Regions from separate parts of the Homo sapiens genome. Here region 1 is linked to region 2. The links are contacts of gene promoters, found by promoter capture Hi-C in human tissues and cell types (Jung and others, 2019). All regions are on one chromosome and are shown on one strand. The core of a region is centred on a gene start or on the middle of the fragment in contact, and the rest is flanking DNA. Distances in the headings are between cores, read along the strand shown. Region 1 overlaps ELK3 (ETS transcription factor ELK3). Region 2 holds the start of ELK3 (ETS transcription factor ELK3).

Region 1 (3,923 bases), core at 108-2,607, 54 kb after region 2:
GTGGCATGTACCTGTAGTCCCAGCCACTCAGGAGGTGGAGGCAGGAGGATTGCTTGAGTCCAGGAGGTTGAGGCTGCAGTGAGCCATGTTCGTGCCACTGCACTCCAGCCTGTGCGACAGAGTGAGACCCTGTCTAAGAAATCATCATCATCATCATCATCTTCCTTACTTTACAGACGAGGAAACTCAAAGTGGCACTTAATTTGCCAAAGATCACAAAGATCTAGTAATGGCAGAACTGGAATGCACATCTAATTCTACTTCCAACTTCATTCCTCCTTCCACTTTTCCTTAGCCAAGAATGTAAATCAGGAACATTTTGGTGCTTCTGCCAGCGACATTTACCATTATCATGAGCTCTTACATGGTTTCTCGGGTGCACTCAGATTTTCAACGTCTACTTTTGTATTTGCAGAACATCATCAAGAAGGTGATCGGGCAGAAGTTTGTGTACAAGTTTGTCTCTTTCCCGGAGATCCTGAAGATGGATCCTCACGCGGTGGAGATCAGCCGGGAGAGCCTTCTGCTGCAGGACAGCGACTGCAAGGCGTCTCCGGAGGGCCGCGAGGCCCACAAACACGGCCTGGCCGCCCTCAGAAGCACGAGCCGCAACGAATACATCCACTCAGGCCTGTACTCGTCCTTCACCATTAATTCCCTGCAGAACCCACCAGACGCCTTCAAGGCCATCAAGACGGAGAAGCTGGAGGAGCCGCCCGAAGACAGCCCCCCCGTGGAAGAAGTCAGGACTGTGATCAGGTTTGTGACCAATAAAACCGACAAGCACGTCACCAGGCCGGTGGTGTCCCTGCCTTCCACGTCAGAGGCTGCGGCGGCGTCCGCCTTCCTGGCCTCGTCCGTCTCGGCCAAGATCTCCTCTTTAATGTTGCCAAACGCTGCCAGTATTTCATCCGCCTCACCCTTCTCATCTCGGTCCCCGTCCCTGTCCCCCAACTCACCCCTCCCTTCTGAACACAGAAGCCTCTTCCTGGAGGCCGCCTGCCATGACTCCGATTCCCTGGAGCCCTTGAACCTGTCATCGGGCTCCAAGACCAAGTCTCCATCTCTTCCCCCAAAGGCCAAAAAACCCAAAGGCTTGGAAATCTCAGCGCCCCCGCTGGTGCTCTCCGGCACCGACATCGGCTCCATCGCCCTCAACAGCCCAGCCCTCCCCTCGGGATCCCTCACCCCAGCCTTCTTCACCGCACAGGTAAGAGTCATTCCTGTCATCTAAGCCACAGCCAGCTTCAGTGGCTTAGCAAAAAAGGAAGAGCAACTAAAGAGACTTCCTTCTGTCCCTCAAAACGTTGTCCTATGACTCGTACCGAGGTCACTGTGTAAATGTGAAGGGAAGCTGCTTTTCCATCCTCAGACCAAGGGGTGCACATGAGACAGGGTTTGGTTTGTCGACTCTAGTGGGATGCTTGATTGGTTTCTTGCTTTTAGCGGCCTAAAGTGACCATAGGTGGAACACGCACACTGGCCGACAAAGCAGATCTCACCAGCGATTTCCAAGGGAAAGTTGAGCGGGCCAGTTTACATTTCGGGAGGCGCTTGGGCTTTATGAAATTTTTATGGCAGAATCTTCTCTGGGGGCGCTTAATAAGGAGCCACTTGTGTTCTGTTAACAAGAAAATAGATGTCAACTGATGCCGCCATCGCATGTCAGTGTGGAGCTGTGGTCATAGCGTAGGTAATAAGAAACAAAGGGGCCACCCCAAACAGCTGCTTCGCTGAAAGCAGCACTACTCTGAGAAAGCCCCAGTCCACAGCACTGGCGAGAGGACAGCAAACTTGCAGAGCCAAAAAAGCCTTCGTTGTTATTAGTCCCAAAGAGAAAGCAGCCTTTTCCTTTAAATCAGATATTCAGATGCTCTTTCTTGTCCAGCTGACAATTGCAGTGCAAAGGCGTAGTAGGTGCTGGGAAACCATATTTCTCCTTCCCCTTGAAAATTGGATGCAATTTTAGTGGCAGAGGTTAAAAGAGTATTCGTTTTAGGTTCACAGACCTGCATTCAGTTCCTGGCTACCCTGCTTCCTAGGAGTGGGACTGTGGGCGGTTGCTCTCTGGGCCAGGTTCCATGTGTGGAAAATGGGACCATGGACAGGCTTTGTGAGCTGGGGACACCTGGTAGCATTGTTAACCGTGGAGCTGCACCCGTCCCCTGCCTCTGTAATCTCATCGTAGTTGTCCCTGTTGTCATTAGCAGCAGCCGCGGCAGCATATGACGGGCTCCCCACGTGTGCCAGGCACTGCTCCAGATGCTTTACATGCATTGCCTGTATCCACACTTACAGCAGCCCTGTCACGTGGATACAGGTTGAGCATCCTGTTTCCAAAATGCTTGTGACCAGAAGCATTTCAGAGTTCAGATGTTTTCAGATTTTGGAATATTTGCATGATACTTGCCAGTTGAATATCCCACATCTGAAAATCTGAAATCCAAAATGTTGCAATGAGCATTTCCTTGGAGTGTCATGTCAGGACTCAGAAAGTTTCAGATTCTGGAGGATTTGGGATTTGGGAATTTTTGGATTTGGGATGCTGAGCCTGTGCTATTATTATCATCCTGTTTCCCAGCTGAGATAAATGAGGCACAGAGGTAAAGTAGTTCGTCCAGGGTCCCACAGCCAATAGGTGGTAGAGGTGGCTTTGGATCCAGTGTCTGCCTCCAGAATCCATGCTCTCAAATGAAATGCATTCCCGCTGCGAGAAGGCAGTGTCCCTGATCACGATGGCCGTCCATGGAGCACCTGAAAGCAGCTCTGGGCCACTGTCCTCTCCACGCTTTCTCTGGACTGGATTCTGCCCAGGATTTCATGACAGCTCAAGCCTGTGAGCTGGTGGTGACGCGCGCCACTGCGGAGGGGGAGGGCCAGGGGATCAGGATATAGGTCAGAGTGAGCACGTGTGCTCTTAAATCAGGCATCTTCCAGTTAAGCAAGGCTGTCCAGTGACCAAGGGCTGCTGAGCAAATGGCTCAGAAACAGCAGCTCCTGATGTAGCTCAGGGGAGTATCTTGAGAGGCAGGGCCAGGGTAGATGATCTGAGCATCTCCTCCCCTGGCCTCCTGTGTGTTTACAACTGTCAGGGTGAGAAAGGTCCGAAGCCAGGCCAGGGCTGACTCTGATTTAGGTGTCTGTGTTCCCTGGGAGCCTGGATCACCTTCTCAGAACAGAGTGAGGCAGATGCCAGCCCTGTCTCAGAGGAAGTCAGCTCAGCCAGCCCTGTGGATAATGTGGATGGAGTGGTGGCTCCCATCGGTGGGGCTGAGGGCGTGAGAGAAGGATCAAGGGTGGATGCCCAACAAATGGATGCAGAGGGCACGACCAGGAGCCAGAAGCCACCAGCATGGCCTGAAACTAGGTGGGAAGGCGTAGGAAAGCCAGGATCTTTACAAGAGGACCTGTGCCTTAGGCAGTGAGGGTGCCTGGTCCTCAGCCAAGCTGTGAGGGTGGGGCTGTGATGATTTAGTGCCAGGAAGCCCAGAAATGGTCCTGAGGGGAGGGAGGCAACAGGCAGCATCTGGACCCAGGGCAGGAGAGTGGAAGTAAAGGGACCTGGCTCAGAGAGGGCCTTCGGGTCAAAGGAGGAGGAGGGGCACCAGGCAGTCCTCTAAACCACGCAAAACTAAGGGGGTCACCAGCTACACTGGGAGATGGTAGAGCCTCGGGACTCAGACCCCACTTTGAACTTCCCTCACATTCCCAGAGTGTGGGCTCTGCTCCTGGCATGGCCATGGGTGGCCAACAGGGAGGGAGAGAAGGGGCAATGAGGGAGACACCAGAGGGGCCCGGGTGGTAGTCAGGGGTGTGGTACTTATTCAGAGTTGAGTTCTTGCAGCCGGTTTCACCCAGGCGGATTCCCTGAGATCAGATAGGATATCTTGAAGCCAGGGGTGGTTTAGGATTAGGGTATGTCA
Region 2 (3,923 bases), core at 509-3,008:
GAAGATGACTGGGGATTAAAACAATAATACCCTAATTGGAAAATTAGCTGTGGGAAATCAGGGGTTGATAAGCAGCCCTCTTTTCCATATCTTCTCCTTCTGCCCCACTCTCCTACCGTGCCCCCACCCTACACCCCACGGGTTTCCCACTCCTTCTCAGAGGTCTGGAGGGCATTCTCCCACCCTTTCCAGTGGACTACCCACAGGAGCCCTGAAGCAAATGCCCGAAGGAAATTCCTATCACCTGTGTGCTCTGATAGGCACTTGGAGCTGGGATGTGGTACTAATCAGTAAAACATACCCCGTGCCCTTTAGCAGCTCACAGTTGATGGCAGTGAGAAATTTGTAAACAAAATAATCTTTCAGGAGAGACTGCAAAACTAGAAACAAACGTAGTGGAGGAACTCTTAGAATGTGGTCCTTTTGAAAGGACTCACACCCGGCCCCCAGAGAATCTGACTTAATTGGCCTGGGTTGAGTATATTGTTGGAGAGTGTCAAAACACTCCCCAGGTGATTCTGACATTAGCCGGGGCCCGGAACCACCCCCGACCTACTGAATCTGGGACTCCAGGAGAGGCCCAGCCACTAGTGGTTTAACAAGCCCCTTGGGTCAAGTTTGAAAACCAGGGGTCTGGGCTGCTAAGTGGCGGCATGGGAATGGAAGGTTCTGGAAGGTGAGCAGTGAGGTTGGGGCGCAGGCCTGGGAAGGGAGAGGCTCTTCAACAGCCATCCCCCCCAACCTTGTCTCAGCCTAGGGCAATGGGCAGGCTCTCCCATCAGAGCCTGGCCTGAGCCCTCAGAGGCAGGACCTCCTTGAGGGATGTGGAGGTGTGAAGACCAGTTCTGAGACCACAGAGGCTCCCTTCAAGCCTCAGTCTCTGACCCTGCGGGCATTATTTCCATGACTTCCAGTGTTGTGGCTCCTTATCCTTTCCCCACAGGCTCGCCCCCCAACTGAGGGCTGGCTTTTTTATTTTTTTGAGACGGAGTTTCGCTGGTTGCCCAGGTTGGAGTGCAATGGGGCGATCTCAGCTCACTGCAACCTCTGCCTCCCAGGTTCAAGCGATTCTCTCGCCTCAGCCTGCCAAGTAGCTGGGATTATAGGGACCCACCACCACACCTGGCTGTTTTTGTTGTTGTTGTTTTGGTATTTTTAGTACAGACGGGGATTCGCCGTGTTGGCCAGGCTGGTCTCGAACTCCTGACCTTAGGTGATCCATCCGCCTTGGCCTCCCAAAGTGCTCAGATTACAGGCGTGAGCCAGCACGCCCGGCCGAGGGCTGGCTTTTAAAACACCGAAAACCCAGACAGGAACGGTGTCCATCTCCAACCCCAGACGGAAACTGTGCCCGCACCCACAAGAAAAGCAGTCCTTTGCCCAGAGCAACCAAACCCTGAACCCCACTCTCGATTCCCCTCTGCCCCCCAACTCTTCCATCCCAGCGGATGGGAAACAGCGAGTCCAGCCGCCTCCCCACCTCGGGACCCCCCTCCCGGGCCAACTGCGCAGGGCACGACCCCGTCGTGGTGCCCCGCGCGCTCGACCCCCAGGGGTTGAGGTGAGGAGGGATCCCCGGTGTCCCGGGAAGCGCGGCGGCTTCTGCGGGTTGCGGGCGGACCCCCCTCCCCGTGGGGAGGGGCTGCGGCCGCGCGGAGTCGCCGCGGGTCGGAGGCTCCTCCCCGGGGTGGCCGCGCAGGAAGCGGGGCGGGTGGGGGCGGTGCGGGGCGCGCACGGGGCCGGGGCGGCGGGGGAGGCGCGGGCCTGGGCGGCCAGCCCCGGCGCACAGCCGCGGCCGGGGCGCGCGGCGCGGGGCGGAAAAGCCTGTTTACACAGACTGCACACCGCCTGGGGAATAATGCAGTAAAGGAAGTGAGCCGGCTCGGCCTGACTGCTCCAACTTCCTGCTCTCACACACACCAGAGGGGAAAAAAAAAGAGGAGCGAGAGAAAGAAAAAAAGGGGGAAAAATCAGGATCTCATTACAAGAGCCACAGACCGTCTGCAGACGCCTGTCAGCATGGAAAGTCGGGGGCTTTCGCCCGGGTCCTCCTAGAAATTCCCCCCGAAGAAGACTCCCCCACATCTGGGTAGGTAACAGGGCTTCTGCCTGTTGCTCGGACACTTAAAAAGTTTGTTTGGGGGTGTTTTCTTTTTTTCTTTCTTTTCTTGGGCGCGGTGGGGGTGGGGCGGGGGGCGCCGCGGGGTGGGCTGCGGGCCGGGGTGGGGGTGGCGGTGCGTCCGCGCGGGAGGGCCGGCCGCGGGGAGGGGGCGCCGCGGATGCTCCTGCGCCCGCGTCGCTGCCACCGCCGTCGCCCGAGCTCGCGCCGGGCCCGGGGCTGCGGGGACCCTGCGCCCGCGGCTCCCCTCCCTGGGGCTGCGCTGCGACCCCAGAGGAAGGGGCGCCGGGCGTGCAACCCTGGGAGCTCGCCCAGGGCCCCGCTGCAGGCAGCGCGGGGAGCGGGGGACGGCGAGACTTCGGGTCCCTGGGAAGAACCGTGGCAGGAGCAGGCTGAGTGCCTGGAGGCTGGACCACCGCCGACCTTCCAGCTGGGACCGCAGTCAGGCTCCCCTCGAGTGGGCAAAGTGCACTGGTGCTCGGATCCAGGGAGGAAGACAGGGATGGAGAGGGCGGTGGAGGACATGGGTCGCGAAGGTGTGGGGCTGGGGGCTGCGTCCACTCTCGCTTGGCAGGTGACCCCCGCCCAGGTCACCGCCCCAGGCGCACGCCCCATCGGACATTTAAAAGCCGGTGGTCTCTATTGGGCATGGTTTTGGAGAAGGACCAGGCAAGAAATGATCTTGGGGCCCCTTCCACTCCCCATCCCTGTTTACCTTCGAACTCAACGTTGGCCTGTGACGCTACTGTAACTTTTGGGGAGGCGGGATTAAGATTTTGGAGTAGTTAAAAAGCAAAAATAAAAGGTCTTGGTTTTGTTATCTTTTCTGAACCGAATCATCCTAGGGACAAGCTGCAGTTAGGCGGCGGGTGGAGGTGGAAGCAAGAAATGTTATTTCAGAAACTGCAAAAGGGGCTTTTTAGAAAGAAAAAAAAACGAGTGTCGGGAGAGTTTCTGGCTTGTCTGGAAACGGCAAGACTAATTGCCATGCGCTTCCGCTTTGAAACTGGCAGCAGACAGCATCTTGAAAATGACTCACTAGAGGAGCTCACAAAGAAACTGTGGTTTGCTCCTTCTTAGGTTTATGTATTTGTGCCTTTTACAGTTTCCTTTGTAGTGTTCGAGGGGTCCCCCGCCCCTTCCCCGCCAGCCCCCTCCCACCCTCCCTCATTTGAAAGCCCCTGGCCGGTCTTTAACTACCCCCACCCCAGTCCTCCAGCCTGGGGGTGGCGGGGAAAGGGGAGGCTGAGTTGTTTTTGGAGTTGGCTGCGGAGAGGGTTAAAGGGATTCTGCTGCTGCAGGGGGAAAAAGTTCCTTGAATTTTCCACTGGCTGCTGCAGGAAGAGAGAGCCCCCTTAGTCATTGCTAAGTAATGTCTGCACACACACCAACTAATCTCATTAGGAGTTTCCGCTGCTCGGCACAGGAGGGGTTTTGTGCAGCCACTGTCAGCCTGGGAGCCCGGCGCTGGGGAAGGAGACAAGTTATGGCTTTATTTACTTAGGGGTGCAGCCGCCCAACGAGCCTTTTCAGGACATGTCTTGAAAACTTTGAAGTCACTTTGGCCATTTTGGATTTCAGATTTGCAGGTTTTTCTTTCCCGCGTGTGTATGTGTGTTGAGAGGTGGGGGGAGATAAGCAGCTCACACACACCCATCTTCTCCATCTGTGCTTGTCTTTGGGGGTGGGGGGGGTGTGGAGCATGTTCCAGGCATCTATTCATGAGCCGAAATCGATTTGTGAGCCTTACAAAATACCCTCTGATCTCTTTTTCTTTCTCTCTCGCCATGGCACCCATTTATTT

The links. The method cuts DNA at HindIII sites, captures the fragments that hold promoters and counts their contacts. A contact is called where the count stands out against the background at its distance.
Region 1: a fragment that was not itself captured here is called in contact with the fragment with the promoter of ELK3 in region 2 in 1 of the 25 tissues and cell types used here (heart right ventricle).

Annotation. Positions count from the first base shown.
Region 1 is chr12:96,246,525-96,250,447 of GRCh38, forward strand. It overlaps ELK3 (ETS transcription factor ELK3), which reads left to right. Exons shown (of 5, transcript NM_005230.4): 3 at 416-1,210. Among named protein-coding and RNA genes, the nearest start is that of ELK3, 54 kb to the left of the region's middle. The HindIII fragment of the contact is 8,099 bases long and covers 1-3,923 here.
Region 2 is chr12:96,192,617-96,196,539 of GRCh38, forward strand. It overlaps ELK3 (ETS transcription factor ELK3), which reads left to right and starts at 1,759. Exons shown (of 5, transcript NM_005230.4): 1 at 1,759-2,089. RefSeq lists a silencer at 1,584-1,723 and an enhancer at 3,055-3,134. The HindIII fragment of the contact is 13,150 bases long and covers 1-3,923 here.